7 separate regions of the Homo sapiens genome follow, and all the other regions are linked to region 7. Evidence: promoter capture Hi-C in 16 types of primary human blood cells and fetal thymus (Javierre and others, 2016). All regions are on one chromosome and are shown on one strand. The core of a region is centred on a gene start or on the middle of the fragment in contact, and the rest is flanking DNA. Distances in the headings are between cores, read along the strand shown.

Region 1 (2,700 bases), core at 155-2,654, 700 kb before region 7:
ACAGTATTAAAGGGGACACAAAGGATGTTTGCACACTACCTTAATAAACCTCCGGCAATTTTTGAGTAGTCTAAAAATGCCTCTGTCACTTAAGCTTTGTATACTTGTACTGAGCCCAAAGCTGTATTAATTTGGCTGTCATTTAAATATATTTTTCTCTTATCATTTTCCATTTCCATTTCATCAATGTGCATTTGCAAAAGAAAGGTTTCATAGTAAAGAATATTTATCTGTTATACGCCAAATTCAGAAAAAAAAACACATAATAAAAATTTTCCAAGATTGGTGTAACTTTTGTGTGAGCCCTTTGCCCTACTTCTTTCTTACTAAAATACACACATGAATTTGGAGGTGGAGTAACATAGGAAAAAGTGAAAGAACTGACTTAAAAGTTGGGGTCCCTGTACATTTTTTGAGCACCACTTCCACCCTGGGCTATCCTCCCAGAATTCTTGCAATGTGAAATCAATCACCTCATGTGTTGGTGCTGCTTAAGGTTTTCTGTGTCTTGCAGTGGAATGAATTTCTAAGTAATATGTCATGCATCCAGTGCTCCTTCCTCTTAGGTTTTTATACAAGAAGGTTGGGACTGAGAGCTGAGGACAGAACTCTGGAAATGTGATCAGTAAAACAACTGGGAATCAAAAATTCCTTCTCCCTTCTTGTTAGGTATATCATATAATTGTCTTGGTGGTTGTTTTCTTGTTGGTATATACCATCCCTCTTTTCCTAGAGCCCTTAATTATCCTCTGCTTCTGCCATTAGTACTTTGATAACACCTAATCAAAGAATATGCCTCACACCATGGAGAAGTCCATGCAAAAGCACCATTTCCTGAAAACCATCGATTCATTGCCCCAACTAACACTTAGACATCTCACATCACTTTCTACAAGATTATTAGTCTAGCCACTCAGGCTACTCTCCACTTAGGGTAGAAGAAACTATTATTATGTTTTTCTTTTAACATTCAGGGCCTCACACTTGTCTCAGATTTCATTCCAATAGACCTTAAACTTGGTCTTACTAATCTTTAAACAATAAAGACTGTAGGCACCCCAAGCATATACACAAACAAACACACACTCATACACATACAAATGTGTATATACATCTATTTCAAGAATAATCTATAGATTTTAATGGCCATTCTGTATGATTTTTGTAGGCTTACACAACTTTGATTACTAGATACTTCAACATGGATATTATGATCCTACTTCTTAAAAACAATTTCAGCTGTTTTCTGCCAAACATCGTATGTTCTCACTCATAAGTGGGAGCTAAGCTATGAGGATGCAAAGGCATAAGAATGATACAGCGGACTTTGGGGACTTGGGGGAAAGAGTGGGAGGGGGTGAGGAATAAAATACTACACGTTGGGTACACTTTCCACTGCTCAGGTGATGGGTGCACCAAAATCTCAGAAATCACCACTAAAGAACTTATTCATGTAACCAGGCTGGACGTGGTAGCTCATGCCTGGAGGCTGAGGCAGACGGATTACTTGAGGTCAGGAGTTCGAGACCAGCCTGGTCAATATGGTGAAACTCTGTCTCTACCAAAAAATACAAAAATTAGCTGGATGTGGTGGTGTGTGCCTGTAATCCCAGCTACTAAGGAGGCTGAGGCAGGAAAATCGCTTGAACCCAGGAGGCAGAAGTTGCAGTGAGCTGAGATTGCACCACTGTACTCCAGCCTGGGCAACAGAGTGAGTGAGACTTTGTCTCAAAAAAAAAAAAAAAAAACCAAACAGATCTTATTCACGTAACCAAACATGACCTGTTCTCCAAAAACCTATTGAAATACAAAAAGAGTTTAAAAAAATGTTTTTCAGCTGTTTTCTTACACAAGCAAACTTTATAATAATCAAAATAAAATGTAATTCAAATGAAGTTGTAAACACTTTAAACCTATCAAACAATTAGGAAAGGTAGACATTATTATAGTATAGGCTGCTTTCTTGTTGTGTCCTCAAATGGCAGAAAGAGAGAGACAGAGTGGACAAAAGCAGATGTATTTCTTTTTATAATATCTTGAATAAGTTGTATAGATTTTTAAAAACTAAACTATTTTGAGATAATTGTTGCTTCACTTGAAGTTGAATACCAAAAGATCCATATACTTTTTACTCAGTTTCCCCTAATGGTAACATCTTGAGAAATTATAGCACAATATCACAGTAGGATATTGACATCGATACGTTGAAAACACAGCACATTCTCCATCACTCCAGGATGGATCTCTGAGGATTCAGTGAAGTTGTTCCTTGTATCAATACTTTGGGGTTTTTTTTTAATGCTCAGAAATTTTTTATGGTATAGATGTACCGCAGTTTATTTAACCATTCACCTATTGAAAGACATCCTGGTTATTTCCAGGTTGGGGCTATTATGTAAAAAACTGCTATAATTATAGCGGTTGACTATAATCATCTGTATTATAGTCAGTTTGAACTGCCCTAACAAAATACCATAGACTAGGTGGCTTATACAACAAAAATTTACTTCCTCACAGGTCTGGAGGGTGGATGACCAAGATTAGGGTGAGTTCTGGTTGGGGCTCTCTTCCTGGCTTGTAGATGGCTGCTTTCTTGTTGTGTCCTCAAATGGCAGAAAGAGAGAGACAGAGAGAGAGAAAAAGAAAGAAAGAGAGATTGTCCTCCTCTTATAAAGCCACAGTCCTATATTAGAGGCCCAC
Region 2 (2,700 bases), core at 62-2,561, 610 kb before region 7:
TCAAAGAAAAGGTTTTTGGTATTGCAGGGCACCAAAAAAGACTATAAGGCTCACCAATTAACCATTGGCAATTACCAGCATCCATGAAGGGACAGCTTCAAGGATCATCAAGTAAGGAAGAAACCTGGACATAGTTAATCCACAGAACAACTAAATGGTTTTTGTGGTGCCTGGATCCACCAGGAGGAGGCTATTAGCTTGGCCCAAAGCTAGCAGATATATTACATGTTTACCTGTAAACATCCTTCAGTTTCAGGCCAGTTTCAAGATTGCTAAGCTCATTTCTACATGCACATGGCCTTTCTTTACTCTGAAACTGAAATGAAGATCCATTGGTTTAACCCTAGCCCCAAGACACCATCAAAGATGAACAGAAACTCTGGGTTGATTTCACATTTGGGACAGAATCTAAAACATCTCTCTATGCTTACTGATTAAGAACCATGTAAGAATCTGATTAAACATGTGTTCCAGCCCTTAGAAAAATACATATGATGAATAATCGGCATATAATTTCACAATGTATTAATGTACCCCTTGAAGCCCTTACATTAACCAAACATAATCATAGCTACAATTGTGGGAAGACATTTTCTATATGCTGGACATTGTGTTAACACTTTAGAGAGAGCTCACACTATCTGGCTTGGCCTCTTCAGCCCTTCTGAGAAGACTCATGAAATTAATAACTCCAGGCCACTTATCTTGAGGAAGTTACGTGAAATTGTTCTTGTGACAAGCTGCTCAAGCATAAATAAGCATCTGCAAGTAGGAGTGCTTGCCATTGTAACTTTAATTTAGGGCTTCTATTTTAAATTACTGATTGTTTGCATTGCTCCCAGCATCTTAGTATATATAACATATTTCTCTTTATAGGAAGTCAAACAGGCCTGTTCACTGAATCTCAGTAAAAGCTGCTCTGGAGAAAGACTGGCTATCTGTATTTCTCCCAAGGTTCCCTAAAGTGATTTTTGCAGCTACCTTATAATGTAGGGTTTTTTTTTTAACCATACCAAGCATATTCCTCCAGTCACTTTTTGGAATAAGCGGCACAAAAACTTTTAGGTTTATTTGTATCGTTCGATTCCTTATAGCATTGGAAGGAGGTATCATTATTCCTACTTGATATAGTGGAAAACTAAGTCCCAGAAAGGATGAATAACTTGCCTTGTCCACATACCTAGTAAGTGGTAAAGCAGGGTTTTTAGAATCCAATTTGGTTTGACTTCAACAGCCAAGTTCTCAGCTGTTGTGGTCTGCTGCTGTAGACTTCAGAATAAGAGCCATTGCTAAAAACACTGGTGTATTACAAAATTGATGAGCCATCATTTTACTTTAACTCAAATCGAATAAACAATAAAAAGTTAAACTTAAATGTATGATAAAACACTCAAGTTATCTCTGGCTGAGAAACAAGTTTAGACATTTCATTGCGTAAATCCTATCCTATCCACTGCCAAGAGCATCTTCCTTCCTGCAATCTCCACCTAGTCAACCAGTCCTACTTATTGGAAGACTTTGTGATTACCCATAGTAAGCACAATAGAAAAGACAGACACAAGGAGACTCTGACCCCTGGCTTCTTAAATCTATATTTTTGCACAGTGTCCATGCTATTTTTCAGAATAAATATGAGCTATGAAAATACTTCCCCCTAGCAAACAGGAAACAATGAGCTACATGGAAACCTAGTGAGCTAAACTTGAGTAGCATGTTTAGGTAAAGAATTTACACAGAAAAATAATTGGGGAAATGGAGATTGCATTACAGGAGCAACTGCTGAAAAGCAGAAGAGAAGCATTGGAGTAAATGTCACTGAGTGGTAGCAGATGATGAAGAACTTGGGGAAAGTTGAAATCTTCAGGAGCAGCAGCAGAATTGTCAGGACAAATCTGAGGAACTAAAGCAAGATACGGAAATCTGCGAAAGAATAAAGGGCAAGAGAGCAAGGAGGAAAAGAAAAAGTGCAGGACCTCCTGATGTTCTAGACTCACCTGCACCATGGGTCATGGTAGGGGAAAGGAGAAACAAGAGAAGGCCTTTGACAGAACATTTCCCTGAAAAGATCTCTCCCAAGGAGAAACAAGTAGCCACTTGACTATAGATGAAGGTGTGAGTAGGGAGTGAGCTCCAGAATGTTCTTTCTCAAATACCTGCCTGCTAATTCATTAATGCTACTTTCTGATCCATGTATAGATGTTGGACATGGAATTCTAGAAAGAACTCCATAACAAGGATTCAGGAAAAAACAGAAAGAACTCTAATTTTTTCCATTGGAGATACTGATATCTGAGCATTCTTTCATTTTGTCACCCTTTTTAAAAAAGAGAAAACATTATTAAAAGGCATATTGTAGCATAGTACAATATACTTACCATTCTAGTGAAAGCAGCGAGCAAGTTCAGGCAATGCCGAAGGAATAAATGTGAAATTAAATTGCTGAAAGAGAAGAGAAACTCAATGATCTACTGTATGCTCTAAGAACAGAGAAGAACTACATCTAGCAAAAGGCTCAACTTTCTTCCAGTATAAACTATGGGAGAACCAGAGTATCTTCCATGGGCATACATATGCAGAACAATATTGGAAAGTTAGAAAAAGATTTAAGGGAGTGGAGGAGTGACAAATTTAAGTTAAAAACACAAACAAACAAGAAAACATCCACATTTAGGAAACTGGAGAAGAAAATAGAGCTGGAGA
Region 3 (2,700 bases), core at 46-2,545, 920 kb after region 7:
TGCTATAACAGTAGGATTTATGATCTGGTTCCTACCCCTTCTTGACCCCTGCTGGAAACCATTCTCTTTTTTGGTCCTGATGTGTAAACTAAGTTAATCATCTGCAGGAGCACTTGGAGGGCTGAGAGAGGAAAGAGAGGAGTAGATTAAGAGGGAAGGGTTGCTACCTGTATTAGTTTCCTATTGCTACTGTTCTAAATTGTTACAAACTTAGTGGCTTAAAACAACACATATTTACTACAATATAGCCCTATATATCAAGCCATCAGCAATGCTGCATTTCTTCAGGAGGTTCTAGGGGAAAATCCATTTCCTTGCCTTTTCCAACTCCTAGAGGCTGCCCACATTGCTTGGCTCATGGTCTTTTCCTCCATCTTCAAAGTCAGCATGGTAACATCTCTCTGACTCTTCATCTGTTGTCATATCTCTCTCTGACCACATCTGTGAAAACTACCTTTAAGGGCTCGTGATTAAATTAGACCCAGCTAGATAATCCAGGGAAATCTCCTCATCTCAAGATTCTTAGCTTAATCACTTTTTCCATGTAAGATAACATATTCACAGGTGCTGAGGATTAAGGTGTGGATATCTTTGGGGATTCTGCCTACCACACTACCTCAAAGCATATTCTTCAAAACAACAATTTTCCAATCATTTCTCTTTTGTAATATGTTGACACAGCAGTCTTGATGATGAAAAGATGTTAGATGAAGTCATATGATGGAAAGACCATGAAACATGTAGAGAAGGTAGTCAAAGGTTGACCTTTCTGTATTTCCCTGACTAAACAAGGGAAGTATAAGATGTACAAGGATACCTTGTACATCCGTGCAAGTAGACACCGCATAACTCTAGGAATGCCTTGAAGCCGCTCAGGGCACAAACTTTAAAACCATAGATGGAAGCTCTGTCCTTTCCATCCCAGCTGCCTGATCCTGGGATCAGAATTTGTCTACCCCTCTAGCTATTGATCATGATTAAATTGAATTCTTTAGAAATATTCTCATTAGCTCACACTGTATATAAAGTAATTTGCTCACTTTCATCATGCTGCAAAAAAAAAAAAAAAAAAAAATCAACCTGAAAAAAAAAAGTAGGGAAACATATATTACTAGGCATGGAATGAGACTACTTGAGTAGCAAGAAGCTTAAAAACACTCCAGTCACCCAACCTTGGGCTGGTACACAGTGTCCTTACCACAATAAGATCAAGCAACCCAGAAACCAAGACTCCAAGAGGGAGAGAAAATGTCTACCTTTGGCCCTGGGGCAAGAAAGCAGGAATAGGAATAAAGAGAAGAGGAAGGTGCCTTCACAGAAATACTTCTCAGTTGCACCTGTAGCCTCACAAGAAAGGTTTCAAATATGAATCCCTGGCAACTGCCTTCTAGGCTGTTAAGTTTAATCCTTCACATTTTGAGTATGTCATGGTACTCCGTAAAAAAAGCTTATTGCATAAGCCGTTGTGACTCTCCTGAGCTCATTCTCTTCAACAATGGCAGCAATATAGTAACAGATAAGTGACCAAGAAAGTATATGTGACCCAGCCATTGTATAAGATTTCATTTTGCTAAAGGTCAAGATAAATTATCATGAAATCCTTGGATATACTGTTACATGGTTCCTGGGGACAAAAGGTTTCCTTTCAGAAGAGCTTCTCAGAAGCAAAGTGTGCTGTGTTTCAATCCTCAGCTAACTTTTAGTTAATGACTCTTGCCTTTTCTCCTACCAGCTCTGCTTATTAAAAGGAGAATGCAATCTGGAGTGTGTGCTGTCAGAATGAACAGCAGGGTCAGTCACTAATCCCAAATTGTATGTCCCAGGATGCCTGCTACAGAATAGGGAAATGCTTACATTTGATTAACCTTCCAGGTAGAGAAATGGAGGCAGCTAGGGGTCTGCAGCTACATGACATGGTATAATAGTCATTTTAAAATATGGCATTCCTGGGGAGATGCAAGAAAAGTCACAGCATGAGGTGCTGACTTAGTATAGCGAATGAAGATTGTGTCTACACAATAGTGAGCAAGCCTTTGGGGGAAGAACATCACCAACCTGGGCATTCATTTTCTTCGAAATATTTGTAACAATATGATAATCCCTTACATCTATATGGTGCTTTATGGAGAGCATAATGCTTCAAGGGCATCACCCCATTTGATCTTCACCACTGTCTTTTGTGTCAAAGAGTTAGAATCCAGGAGTGCATTCCCCATTAAAAAAAAAAAATCATGCTTAACTGTCGATGCACTTTTTTTTTTTCCAAGGCCTTTTCTTTAACAATTTCTTTAGGTATAAACAATGAAGAGGGAAGAAACATCATTGGATGGGGAGCGGGGAAGTTGGAGTAGTTCGAGAGTAGACAAAATCATACAAGGTTTGGAAAGACATCTCCTGAAAACGTTTCTCTCAGGCAGGAATGCTCACGGGTCAAAGAAAGCACAAGGTCACTTTTATTTCTGAGGCACCAGGAACAATAAGAACAAAAGAGTCTACATGTTGTCTTTCCTAGTAGACAATGAGTTCCAGGTGGGCAAAGGTGCAGTAAAACACCTAGCACTTTTGTAGATACTCAAATAATGTTTGCCGACCAAATGGATGAATAGAATTAAAAAAGTAAGAAGATCAAATTATCAAAACACAGTGATGCACTGCCAGGTTTGATCAAATACATGTGAGAAAACTTGTGAAATACAGATT
Region 4 (2,700 bases), core at 102-2,601, 570 kb before region 7:
GAAGCTAATAATTTATCCTTTTTCTGTTTCTAGTCACCACCACCACCCTCCCTGGATAAAAAGTAAAAAAGAAAAATTTCTCTTACATGGAGAAACCTGTTTATCACAATGATTGTCAGCTAGCTAAGAAAAAGCACACTCCTTTCCCCACATATTAAAGAAACAAGTATTTGTGTAAATGTTACTCTGGTTGCTGTGATGAAGGGGCTGGCTGCAGTCAAGAGCACCAAAGCCGTCAGATAGAAAATATCTGCTGTGTTGCTGAAACCAGGAGCTGACCCTTGGCTCTAATGGAGTAGTTATGCGCCATGATGACAACACAGGAACACAAGACAGGCAAGTTGGAGATCAGCACAAGAAGGGTTAATGAAACGCCCTTCACCATACTGCAGGGAGTTGCATCTGCAAAACCCTCAACCTTTGCCAGTTTTATTTGCATCTAGGAGAGGGGCTCCCTGTTATGAGGAAGTCTGCCCCCAAGACCTTTTACTTGGCCTTTCTCTGTTAATTCCAGCAATATGCAATAAGACCTGCCACCAAGAGGTGGCCAGAGGTGGAACGGCCAAGTAGAAATTTCATTTCCCAACCAAGGGAACATTTCAATTTCTAGGAAATCAATTGAGCTTCTATTAAAAACAAGGACACACCTATGTGCTTTCCGCAAATAGGCTGCTTCCTGTTGGAAGGCAGAAAGCTGCCCTCCCCTGAGCCTCCAGATGAGCTCTGATTTATCCCTCCTGCACCAAGAATCATGTGAGCTGAAAGGTCAGGCAGTTAAAGATTTATGCTTTGTTTTATAAGATTGCTCAGAGAGAGACTCTTTTCCCTCTCTTGTTTATTTTTTATCCTCCTCCAGCCTGTTGTCCATTTTTTCTGCCGAAGCTAGACCATAGAAAAGGAAATGGGAAAATGCCTTGTAATATGAGCCCAAGAGCTTGCTGTCTCCCCAGATGGCAGGCTGTGTTGAACCAATGAGGGCAACCCCCGTGGCCGGCCACCACAACCCACCCAGAGAGGGGCACATGCATCAGTGCGCCTTGTAAATCTTTTTTAACCTCAGTTCTGAACTGGGATTTATTTGTTTTTCTAGGCAGATGGATCTGGCTCTCTCTGGGCCTTACAAAATGATCTGTCACTGTCTACCTTAATAACCTACAGCAGTCTGTAATAAAGTCAGCTTGCCCGGTCTAGCAAGTGGACGCCATAGCTTAGATCATATTAGGTCTTTTTTGTTTATTAGACATCTATCTTGGGCTGCCCAGGCATTGGTCTTTTCTCAAGTATACACCCCTATCTCCCACCACGGGAGAGCCATCTGAGCAAGGCATTGTAGAGGATGAAGGTTATGTGTGTTTATTACCTGCTTGCTGGGTGTGATCTTTTATGTTTATTACTGACATGGTAATATTTGGGGAAACAACCAGCCCAGACCTGATAGGTGAGAATGAGTTAAAAATCTTAAGAGCTTACACATTTTTAACCAATGTGTATCTTACCAATCTCATTTGCTTCTCGCCAAATCTGTCTCTCTTTTCCTATTTAATATAATCGTGACCCTATGAACAGAGCTAGAAACAATCAGCATGTTTTGAGTTTTCTCTGTTCCCCTTATATCAAGTCAGTCCCATTTCTTACTGATTAAGCCTGAAAAATGTCCGTGCCTCACTGCAGCCCTCCAACATGTCTCCTGGGCTTACTGTGATAACCTCAGATCTATCTTCCCCGCCAGTCTATGTCCCCCCTCTTTAATCTATGGATCCCAACACAGCATCCTGATCCAGAAATCATCAATGCCTAATCTTTTATTCAATGTAAAGTCCCAAATCCTTACAATAGCATCCCCTTCACTGGCTAGACTCATTTGCTATCCACTCCCTTCATGCTCATACCCATGAGCTTGCTCCACTCCCCGTGCACCCTCCTCAACCTTTCCAGATCTCCATACATCTACTGCAGTTTTTCTATCTAGAATTCCCATTGTCCTTCCCTTAACTCAGAAGAAACAAAAATAGCCATTTCTATAAGATCTACTTCAAAAGTCATCTTCTCCATTGAGCATTCCTCAGCACCTCCAAGAAGAGTGAATCTCTTTTTCCTGTGATGCCTCTTTATTCATTCTGCAAGGAGGCATCTATACCTCTGCATCATAGCAAGTTGCAAGCATTTCTCATTTCCCCCATGCCAGACTTAGAATTATTTGAAGTCAGAGCATGTCTTATTTGTATCTCTACCCCTAGCAATGGGCCCAGTATTTAGCCATTGAAGTTAGAATTCTCTGATAAGCTGCAAGAGCATGACAAGTTGATTAGGTCTCTGAATGTACTTGGCTTTGCAAAAGGTCACTTAAGGAGAATTATGTAGATATACCCTATAATATTTTCTAAAGGCTTATAATCTAAATCAGGTTCAGGCACTTCAGTTTAGACTGAACTTGGTCCCTCTCTATAACATCTCTTCTACCCTTGTAATGTTTAAATATTATAATAGCAAATTTTAAGTCCCAAGACTTGCAATGACCTTGTAGAGGTCAGCTGTTGCTTTTGTGGCTTCCTAGCATCCACTGCATATTCTCTTGCTGAAAGTATTCAGAGTTCTTTGGGGAACTTACTAGCTTGCTCTTTGTGTACATTCCGCTAAGGCTGTTAAGCAAGGTTCTGAGTCCTGTTCTAACCACAGTGGTGGCATATGCCTCATGCCAAC
Region 5 (2,700 bases), core at 71-2,570, 880 kb after region 7:
AGGGCCATGGATGAAGCTGGAAACCATCATTCTCAGCAAACTATCGCAAGAACAAAAAACCAAACACCGCATGTTCTCACTCATAGGTGGGAATTGAACAATGAGAACACTTGGACACAGGAAGGGGAACATCACACACCGGGGCCTGTTGTGGTGTGGGGGAAGTGGGGACGGAAAGCATTAGGAGGTATACCTAATGTAAATGAGGAGTTAATGGGTGCAGCACACCAACATGGCACATGTATACATAGGTAACAAACCTGCACATTGTGCGCATGTACCCTAGAACTTAAAGTATATTAAAAAAAAAAAGACTGTGTGCCTTGCTTAGGGAGTTCAAATCACTAACCCTACAAATCATGTGTAGAGAAAAAAAGAAGGTGGTTTGCCCTCAGGATTTCCATCAGGACCAGTTCTCCAGAGATCAATGCCAAGTGAGGAAGAGAAGGAGCTTGGAGACCCTGGTAGTTCCTTCTACTCTGGATTATTCTGATTTCCAGGGTGACATAGGTACAGCAAAGTAGATGATGGTTGAGAAACAGCTGCAGTCCAAGAACAGTCATTTTCCAACAGATGTGCCAAAGGGGAGGGCACCCTCTGGAGGCTCCCAGCTGGAAAGCCAGCATCTTGGCCATAGCCTTTTTCAAGGGGTGAGCATATCTGGTAGTGGCTTTAGCTTAAGAGCTTTGGCAGTTCCTGGCAAAGGGAGCAACTGGTATAGAACAACTAGGTCATACATTTGCCACACTCTATATGGTTTAGGAGCCATTGGCTTGCCATCTGTACAGGCATCTTTACCCTCTTGTGAATGGGGAACAGGAAGCTCTAGACAGTAACTTCACACCTTAAGAGCAACCCCACCATCTGAAACTTCTATAGTCCTATGTTCCCCACTTTATAATAGATGATTCTGTTCCTTGATCCAACTGGTAGATTAGTTATTCTCCTGTCAAAATATTTGCTGCACTTGCCTTCGGGGCACATCTTACAAATAAGGTGTTTGTCAGAATCTCTAACAGGACAAGAAGGGGGAGATACAACTAAGCTTCCAATAAATGGTTTTGTGACAACTGACTGCTATTGTACCCACTTGATTATAAATGTGTTTTGTAAGTATGGCAGAATTTATTCTTAGGACTTGATTTCATGAATAAATACAATCTGTGAGAAAACAATAGCCCACATATTAATAGCCTTCAGAAGCTACTGGTATATACCAAAATAACTTAAAAAATTGAATGGGCAAACTGGCTTAGATCTGGTCTGCAATATGTGCTTCACCACCACCATTTTTTAACCTAAAATACCAGCTCTTCAGCTTACTAGTTCTATAACCATGAACAAGTCATTTAGCTCTATCTGAACTCATTTGTAAATTCATTCATTTATCTTTTTAGCTTTTCTTCATTCGCTCTGTATTGAGATTCTATGTGCTAGCAACTGAATTTGGTGTTATAGAAGGACTAATATCTACTTCAAAGAGTAATTCCAAATATTAAGATAATTTATAAAATCTCCTAGCACAGAGGATTAGTTAATAACTTTCTCCTGTATATGAATTTGGAAACAAAACATGCTGGAGGGTAAGGCAAAGAAAAGCTTTTTTTGGGATTTGGTCCATCTAGGTGCATTATTACTAAAGACTTTAGAGGTGTAATTTTTCCCTAAACAATAAAATGTAGGTATTAGTCTAATTGCCCAAAGGCTAAGTAAAATGAAGTTGAAGATCAGCATTCACCCATGGGCAAATATTTTCTTTTTTGCTTTGGAATCCAGTCCATGATATAAGCCATATTCAGATACAGCCTAAGGATAAGGAAAGCCACCCTTTAAAGAGCATGCTGAGAGGTGCCCTAACTGCAGGTGAACAGCAGGGTTTCCTTGGAAGCATCTCCAAAGCAATCCTGAGTGACTGTGCACACAGTGCACTCTGTGCACACCCTGCTCTGCAAAGGATCCCCTCCCTGCTTCCTCCCAGTCTCTCTAGTAGGTAGTTCAGTTTATACCACATGAATGGTTGAAAAGTACTGTTCAGTTACCTGAAGAAATTTTTTACTTATGTACACTTCTACTCTGAAAACTTAGAGTGGAACTGGAATGAAAATTTTCAAAATATCAAGAAGTATGTGGATATCCTAAAGCCACAATGAAAAGCCAAAAAAATTCATACAAGTTGCTTTGCTTGGTGAATCAGTGGGGGCTAATTAAATGTCCTGTTGATAATGGGAGATGTGGTGTGTTTTATAAGGGCTAAATAATCCTTCAGTGAGGCAAAGTGATGGTTTCTCTCATAGCAAGCTGCTGACTAATGTGAGGTAGGTGAACTCTTTGGAAGCGCCTTGAGCAAATGCACCTGGTACCCAAGCAAGGAGCCATTTATTAAAAAGCAGCCTGGGCGCCCCAGTGAAGGAAGAAAAGTTTAGGGCAACTGTGCATTGTACCTACTTTGCTTCCCCAAGAGTCAGACCTGGCAGCATTGTTGAAATTAGGAAGTATCAGATAATTTTGTATTGTAATCAGTTTCTACATAATCTTGCACAATGCAAAAGTAGAGACAATCTTCTTTAAGCTACAAGCTTTGTATTCTTCTTTGACCTCATATTGAAACTCCAGAAATCCACCCTTCATTCTGCTTTTTATCTCACCTGGCCTGGTTGGGTGCCCCTATGAATATAGATAGCTTTAGATCTTTGCCTTCTC
Region 6 (2,700 bases), core at 43-2,542, 590 kb before region 7:
ATGAGGAACAAATGAAAAGATAAAAATAAAGCTAACGAGAAAAGGCTAAAGAAAAAAACTTAAATATAAGAAAAAGCAAGCAAAATGAAGGAGAAATTAAGGGGCTCAGACATACAATTAATAGAAACTCTAGCAAAGGAATATAAAGTAAATGACCGAGAAGTCATACTGAAAAGACAAAAATTTAGGATTACCCAATTTGAACAAAAATGTTTTCAGATTAATAGTCTGACAACAAAAAATAATAATAAATATAATTCTATATCTAGATATTTTGTATCATAAACATGAAGAATAAAGAGAAAAATTTTAAAAGCTACTAGGGAAAATGCATTTTGTTAATGAAGAATTGACAAACTAACAGTAGTAAGAGATGTCTGAAATCAATGAAGCCATTGTTTCTAAGTGCAGAGAAAAAAATGACAGCTTGAAATTTTATTCTTAGGTACAGTTTTATTTATGAATAAATACACAATAAAGAGATTTTAAGATACTCAAAAACTAAGATTTAGTAAGTAGAAACATGAATCAAAGATTATCCTTTACAAGAAAATATTGTTCTCATATATACATAGAGCATTAAAAATTAGCATGTACAAGGTGACAAAGGATGTTTTAATAATTTTCTTTGAATGTTATGGTGAAAATGATCATCAGTCATAGGCAATTTCAATGAGAGTAAACAAGACAGTTGAAAACACTCAATATGTTTTAGAAATTAAAAATGGATTCCTAAGTGACTCATAAGTTAATGAGGAAATTACAATAAAAATTTCTAAATATTTATTTACAACCATCAAAGCTTATAAGATAAAACTGAAGCAGAGTTTATACGGAAAAAACTTCTAAATAAATACTGACATTTATTTCAAAACTTGGAAAGACAAAATTAATGAGTCATTGTTCAACTCAGTAAATTAAAAATTTAAATAAAAAACTAAATAATATAGAAAGAATAAAAAAAATTGAAAAAAGAACAGAGATTAATACAAATAGAAAACAAAAAAATGCCAAAGAATTTATATACCCAAAGCTGTTGCTCTGAAGAATGTTGTTACAAACAAAAAGCACAAATCTTTAAGAATCAACTAACAAAATCAAGTAAATGAATATCAAGTTATTTCATTTCAATAATGGCTCCATAAACAAAGTATAACTTTACTTATTGACTAGAAGCAAAAATTTGCAAAGGCCTAACTGATGAAGGCTTAGAACATTGAAAAACAAAAACTTTTGTATAAGTAAGAAACTTACTACCAATATTTGGAAGTGATTAAAGATACCATTAAGCAATTCACAGAATGGACAAAAATATGAACAAATACTTAACCTGACAGTTAGTCTGAGACATACAAGATGAAACAACTAACAGCTACCATTTCACGCACGACAATGACAAAACTTTTTTAAATATGATAAAAACCCCTCCATGAAGGCAGAAATCTTTGATTTTTTCCTTGTTGCATCTTCAGCACACAGAACAGTATTTGTTTCATGGGAACACTCAGTAAGTATTAAATGACTGGATAAAATACTCAGTACTGGTAAGCATAGGGAAAACAGACTTCTTATTTATTCTAAGTAGTCTAAAAGAATTCAATTACATTAGAGAATAATCTAGTCAAGTTGGAAGGTGTACATGCCTTTCAAGCCAGCTCTTCCACTTCTAGGTGTACACCCCCAGGTAGTCCTCCACATAGGTTAAAGATTGGTTAAATAAGTAGAACATATTCATATTATGGATGTTTTCCATATGGATGCAACAGTAAAGATTAATGAAATAAAGCTTTATGTAATAACATAGATTATCATAAGTATAGCAGTACAAATGAAATCTTTGTACGAAAGCATGCTTGGGGATTTTATTTGCCAAGTTTAGGAAAGTAATTGCCTTTGTCTGGGGCCAATAAGAGATGAGAGTGAATACAGGTCTTCTACTGTACATCATGGACATTTTTGTTGGTTAAAATATCTGTTTTTGTTTGCTTAAAGAAAAGATCTGAGTCAAAAAAAGTTAAAATTTTCTGAAGTCAAATAGGTAGAAAGGACATGAATTTTCTTTAAATTATCTTTATATTTTCTGTATGTTTGAAATATTTTATAAGCTATTTCATATAAGATAAGATAATTCATATTCTTTTATAAGATAAAAGAATAGAAAAAGATACGGAAGAACAGGATTTTGTCTGCCCCTGAGCCTGGGCAGTGTCTTTTTCAATTGGGGAGCAATGTGTGCTAAGCAAGAAGAAACTTGAAGTGATATGGGACTAAATGAGTATGGTAGTATAAGGCCCATAACCTCAGAGAGCAAGATAAGAATTGTGGTTAATAGTCTATGAAACATCCTGAGCTACCTAGATCAGTATATGAAATGCATATCCATAACAAAGATAGAGTATATAAAAAGGGTACAGGATCTGGAGAATGAATTGGGGTACCATATATTTTAAAAAGGCAAGATCTGGAAAAGGCTCATTGTGATTTCAACATAAATCTTCTGACAAATTTAAAAACTTTTCAAAAGAAGGCTAACCCTGGTAATGCTGTTCTGAAGATGAAAACAAATAAATATCATTACTACCGGCGGGGCGCGGTAGCTCATGCCTGTAATCCCAGTACTTTGGGAGACCTAGGCGGACGAACCACCTGAGGTCAGGAGTTTGAGACCAGCCTGGCCAACATGGCGAAACTCCGTCTCTA
Region 7 (2,700 bases), core at 82-2,581:
CCGGGTGCCGGCTCTGCGGGAACATCGCTCTGGCGGCGGCCGGGGCTCTGTTCCCCGGCAACTCAATTCTCCGGTCAATTTCCAACTTTAATCCCGCCGAGGAAAATTAAGCCGGAAAGCCAAGCAGAAGCGGGGAGCGCGCTGGCCACGCACGCGCGCTCCGCCGGGCGCACCGGCCACTCGGCGCCCGCAGCTGCTCCGGCTCCCGCTCCCGTCGGTGCGGGCTCCGGCCCTCAGGGCCACATTAGTGGGCGCCCCAGGCCCAGCTGCTTCAAGAACCTGCGCGGAGACGTCGGGCGCTCGGGGACTGTGCGCGGGGGCAGCGCTCCAACCCCCGGCCTCAGCTGCCCGGGCGGGGAGGCGGGGGCGCGGTGACTCCGACCGCACTCCCCTCGGCGATCCGCGTGCGCGGCGCCAGTCCTGGGCAAACAAATCCAGACGGACTGCTTTTCTTTGCTCTTCTCCTGGTCCGCCTCCTCTTCGGGCTTTCCCCGAGGCGGCGGCGGGCGAGGTGCAGGTGGCGCGGCGGCCCCCGCTAACCCCACACAAACCCGACGCTTTCGGGGCGACTCCCGCAAGATTCGGCTGCGCCTTCGGCCGGGTGCTCGCAGGCTCCCGGGACGCAAAGGGGAGCGAGGTTGAAGACGCAGCGGAGGCTCCTGGCCGGGGAGCGACGGATGACGAGGCGGGGAAAGTGCGGAGGGCGCGCCGGGAGGCGGCTCGGCACGCCCCGTGCGACCAGCACTCGGTGTTCTCCGCGGTTGCACAAACCCTCCGGGCCCGACGGGGCTACTCCACCGAGAGCAGTCCCGCAAGTGCCCAATGCTCCTCGAGCCCGGGGAGCATCAGGGCGCCGCGCCTCGGGCGCACTCGCCCTGCACGGCCGGACCGGCCGCTCCGGACCCTTCTTCCGAGCTCCTTCTTCCTCGGTCTTCTTTCTTTCCTTCCTTCACCTTCGTGTGCTTCTCCGCAAAGGGCGCTCCAGCCCACTGCAAAGTTCTCTCACCACCCGAGGGACGACATCCACGAGATGGTGGGGAAAACAGCAGGAGTGCGCTCCGCCAATCGGCCACCCTCCCCGGCGGGCAAACTCTGCGGGCGAGTCCAGAGTAGTCACAGCGGTGGGGCCAGCGGGGGTTTTGGTCGCCGCGGGACGACGGAGGTCCGGGCTGGTGGCGCGGGTCCCGCCCGGCCGTGCGAGGGTGGGGTGGCGCAGTCGGCTGCCTCCGGGACGCGGGGCACAGAGTACCCGCCGCTGTTTCTGCTGCTGCTGCTTCTGCAGCCGCCGCTCCCACCGCCGCCGCCGCCCGCGCCTCTCGCGCCGCTTACATTAACACGCGGTTTCACACTCCGGAGCTAACCAGCGCCGGCCCCGCCCAGCCCCGTTCGGGCGGGGGGCGCGAGCGCGGAGCCGGCGGGGGACGTGAGCCCGGGAGGTTGGGGGGTGGGGGGGGGGCAGAAGGCCCGCATCAGCCAATCGCGTGCGCTGCAACCAACGTGGGGCGCTGACGCGCTCCTCCCCGGAGCGTATGGCAGCGCAGCGCCGGACGGGGCGTTCTCCCTCCCCCCCTCCTCTCGCTTCCATCTCCGCCGTCTCCTCGGTCTCCCTTCCCATCCCGGCCCCTCCTCCGCCAGCCGCGTCCTCCCGGGCTTGGTGAGGAACTGTTCCTGGAGGAGCCGCGGGACGCCAAAACCAGCCAATGGGAAGCGGCGATTCGCGGAGATTGGCACTGATGATGGGAAGGTCGGTGGGAAGGAGAGCGGCGGGGCTGGGCTGTCAATCAAAGTAACGTGGGGCTGGCTAGAGAGCGCGCGGGCGCGCGCTAGCGGGAGGGACTGGCGAGCGTGCAGCCGGGGAAGCTGAGGGCTCGAGTTAGCAAAAATCCTGCCACTTGCTCACTTTTCCCTTTAATGAAAATCCTCAGATCTAAGTGAAAGTAACTCAAAGACTAGCTGCGGAGTTTCTTATTGGAGGCGGAGGGGGGCTTTTGGTAATTCGAGCAAATGTGTTTTTCAGTGCTGGACCCCTTGTTTGATGCTACTCTAAAAGTGAGGCCACATTCAAAAATTTATCTGAGGTTTGTTTTTCCTTGAGCTGCCTTTTTACGGATGTACGAGAGGGAGTGGACTGTGCACTTAGTTGGAAATGCGTAAATGAGCAACGCCACGGTTGGCGTAGGTACACCAGCAAAGACGACTGTGATGTCCTCCCACCCCACCCACCCCCTTTGCACCCAAAGTGGTAGGATTTGATTTTTATTGCAGGATTTCAAGCCACTTTTCAAAAAGATCGTCCTGTCCCGTTTGGCGGGAAGGATTCCCAGGGTGCTGCCAGAACAAGGCACGCGTGTCCGCAGATGAGACGTTTTGCCCGGGGCGCGAAATCCCAGGTCTTCGTCTTAAAAGTCCTGACTTCGCTGTGTTGGGAGAGGTGGGGAGCGGCTGAGGTTTTTAGGAACTTCTCAGCTACAAGACTACGAGTCTGTTTCCAATTCCTGGGAACAAAGAGAGACAATGTAATAAACCAGCACTGAGACCTGAAAAACCTGTCCCGCACACCCCACCCCCACAGTCTGGGTGGTACTCCTGAGCTGAGCTGTGTGAAGAGCTAAATGGGAAGAGTTAGGTAAATGACGTGGCTAAGGTTCTTATGAAGTGGAACTTGAGTTAAAAGGGATTTTGAGATTGTAATAATCAAGA

The links. Contacts are between HindIII fragments. The CHiCAGO score rates a contact against its expected background, and 5 or more counts as called.
Region 1: a fragment that was not itself captured here is called in contact with the fragment with the promoter of TLE1 in region 7 in 1 of 17 cell types (fetal thymus); the score reaches 6.0 in fetal thymus.
Region 2: a contact is called between a fragment that was not itself captured here and the fragment with the promoter of TLE1 in region 7, in 1 of 17 cell types (monocytes). The highest score is 7.5, in monocytes.
Region 3: a contact is called between a fragment that was not itself captured here and the fragment with the promoter of TLE1 in region 7, in 1 of 17 cell types (total B cells). The highest score is 5.1, in total B cells.
Region 4: a fragment that was not itself captured here is called in contact with the fragment with the promoter of TLE1 in region 7 in 2 of 17 cell types (monocytes and fetal thymus); the score reaches 18.3 in monocytes.
Region 5: a contact is called between a fragment that was not itself captured here and the fragment with the promoter of TLE1 in region 7, in 2 of 17 cell types (M1 macrophages and M2 macrophages). The highest score is 5.3, in M1 macrophages.
Region 6: a fragment that was not itself captured here is called in contact with the fragment with the promoter of TLE1 in region 7 in 1 of 17 cell types (monocytes); the score reaches 8.5 in monocytes.

Annotation. Positions count from the first base shown.
Region 1 is chr9:80,988,908-80,991,607 of GRCh38, forward strand. No RefSeq gene overlaps it. Among named protein-coding and RNA genes, the nearest start is that of TLE1, 700 kb to the right of the region's middle. The HindIII fragment of the contact is 2,625 bases long and covers 93-2,700 here.
Region 2 is chr9:81,077,474-81,080,173 of GRCh38, forward strand. No RefSeq gene overlaps it. Among named protein-coding and RNA genes, the nearest start is that of TLE1, 610 kb to the right of the region's middle. The HindIII fragment of the contact is 6,440 bases long and covers 1-2,700 here.
Region 3 is chr9:82,608,696-82,611,395 of GRCh38, forward strand. The region is part of intron 2 of LOC107987087 (a long non-coding RNA gene); the gene reads left to right. Among named protein-coding and RNA genes, the nearest start is that of RASEF, 450 kb to the right of the region's middle. The HindIII fragment of the contact is 300 bases long and covers 1,146-1,445 here.
Region 4 is chr9:81,115,991-81,118,690 of GRCh38, forward strand. No RefSeq gene overlaps it. Among named protein-coding and RNA genes, the nearest start is that of TLE1, 570 kb to the right of the region's middle. The HindIII fragment of the contact is 7,791 bases long and covers 1-2,700 here.
Region 5 is chr9:82,569,830-82,572,529 of GRCh38, forward strand. All of the region lies in intron 2 of LOC107987087 (a long non-coding RNA gene), which reads left to right. The region is part of intron 1 of LOC105376110 (a long non-coding RNA gene); the gene reads right to left. Among named protein-coding and RNA genes, the nearest start is that of RASEF, 490 kb to the right of the region's middle. The HindIII fragment of the contact is 554 bases long and covers 1,044-1,597 here.
Region 6 is chr9:81,093,730-81,096,429 of GRCh38, forward strand. No RefSeq gene overlaps it. Among named protein-coding and RNA genes, the nearest start is that of TLE1, 590 kb to the right of the region's middle. The HindIII fragment of the contact is 984 bases long and covers 801-1,784 here.
Region 7 is chr9:81,688,216-81,690,915 of GRCh38, forward strand. It overlaps TLE1 (TLE family member 1, transcriptional corepressor), which reads right to left and starts at 1,332. Exons shown (of 20, transcript NM_005077.5): 1 at 2-1,332. The coding sequence starts at 25. It overlaps TLE1-DT (TLE1 divergent transcript), which reads left to right and starts at 1,498. Exons shown (of 4, transcript NR_109772.1): 1 at 1,498-1,744. RefSeq lists an enhancer at 643-1,357 and silencers at 1,230-1,579, 1,730-1,879. The HindIII fragment of the contact is 8,493 bases long and covers 1-2,700 here.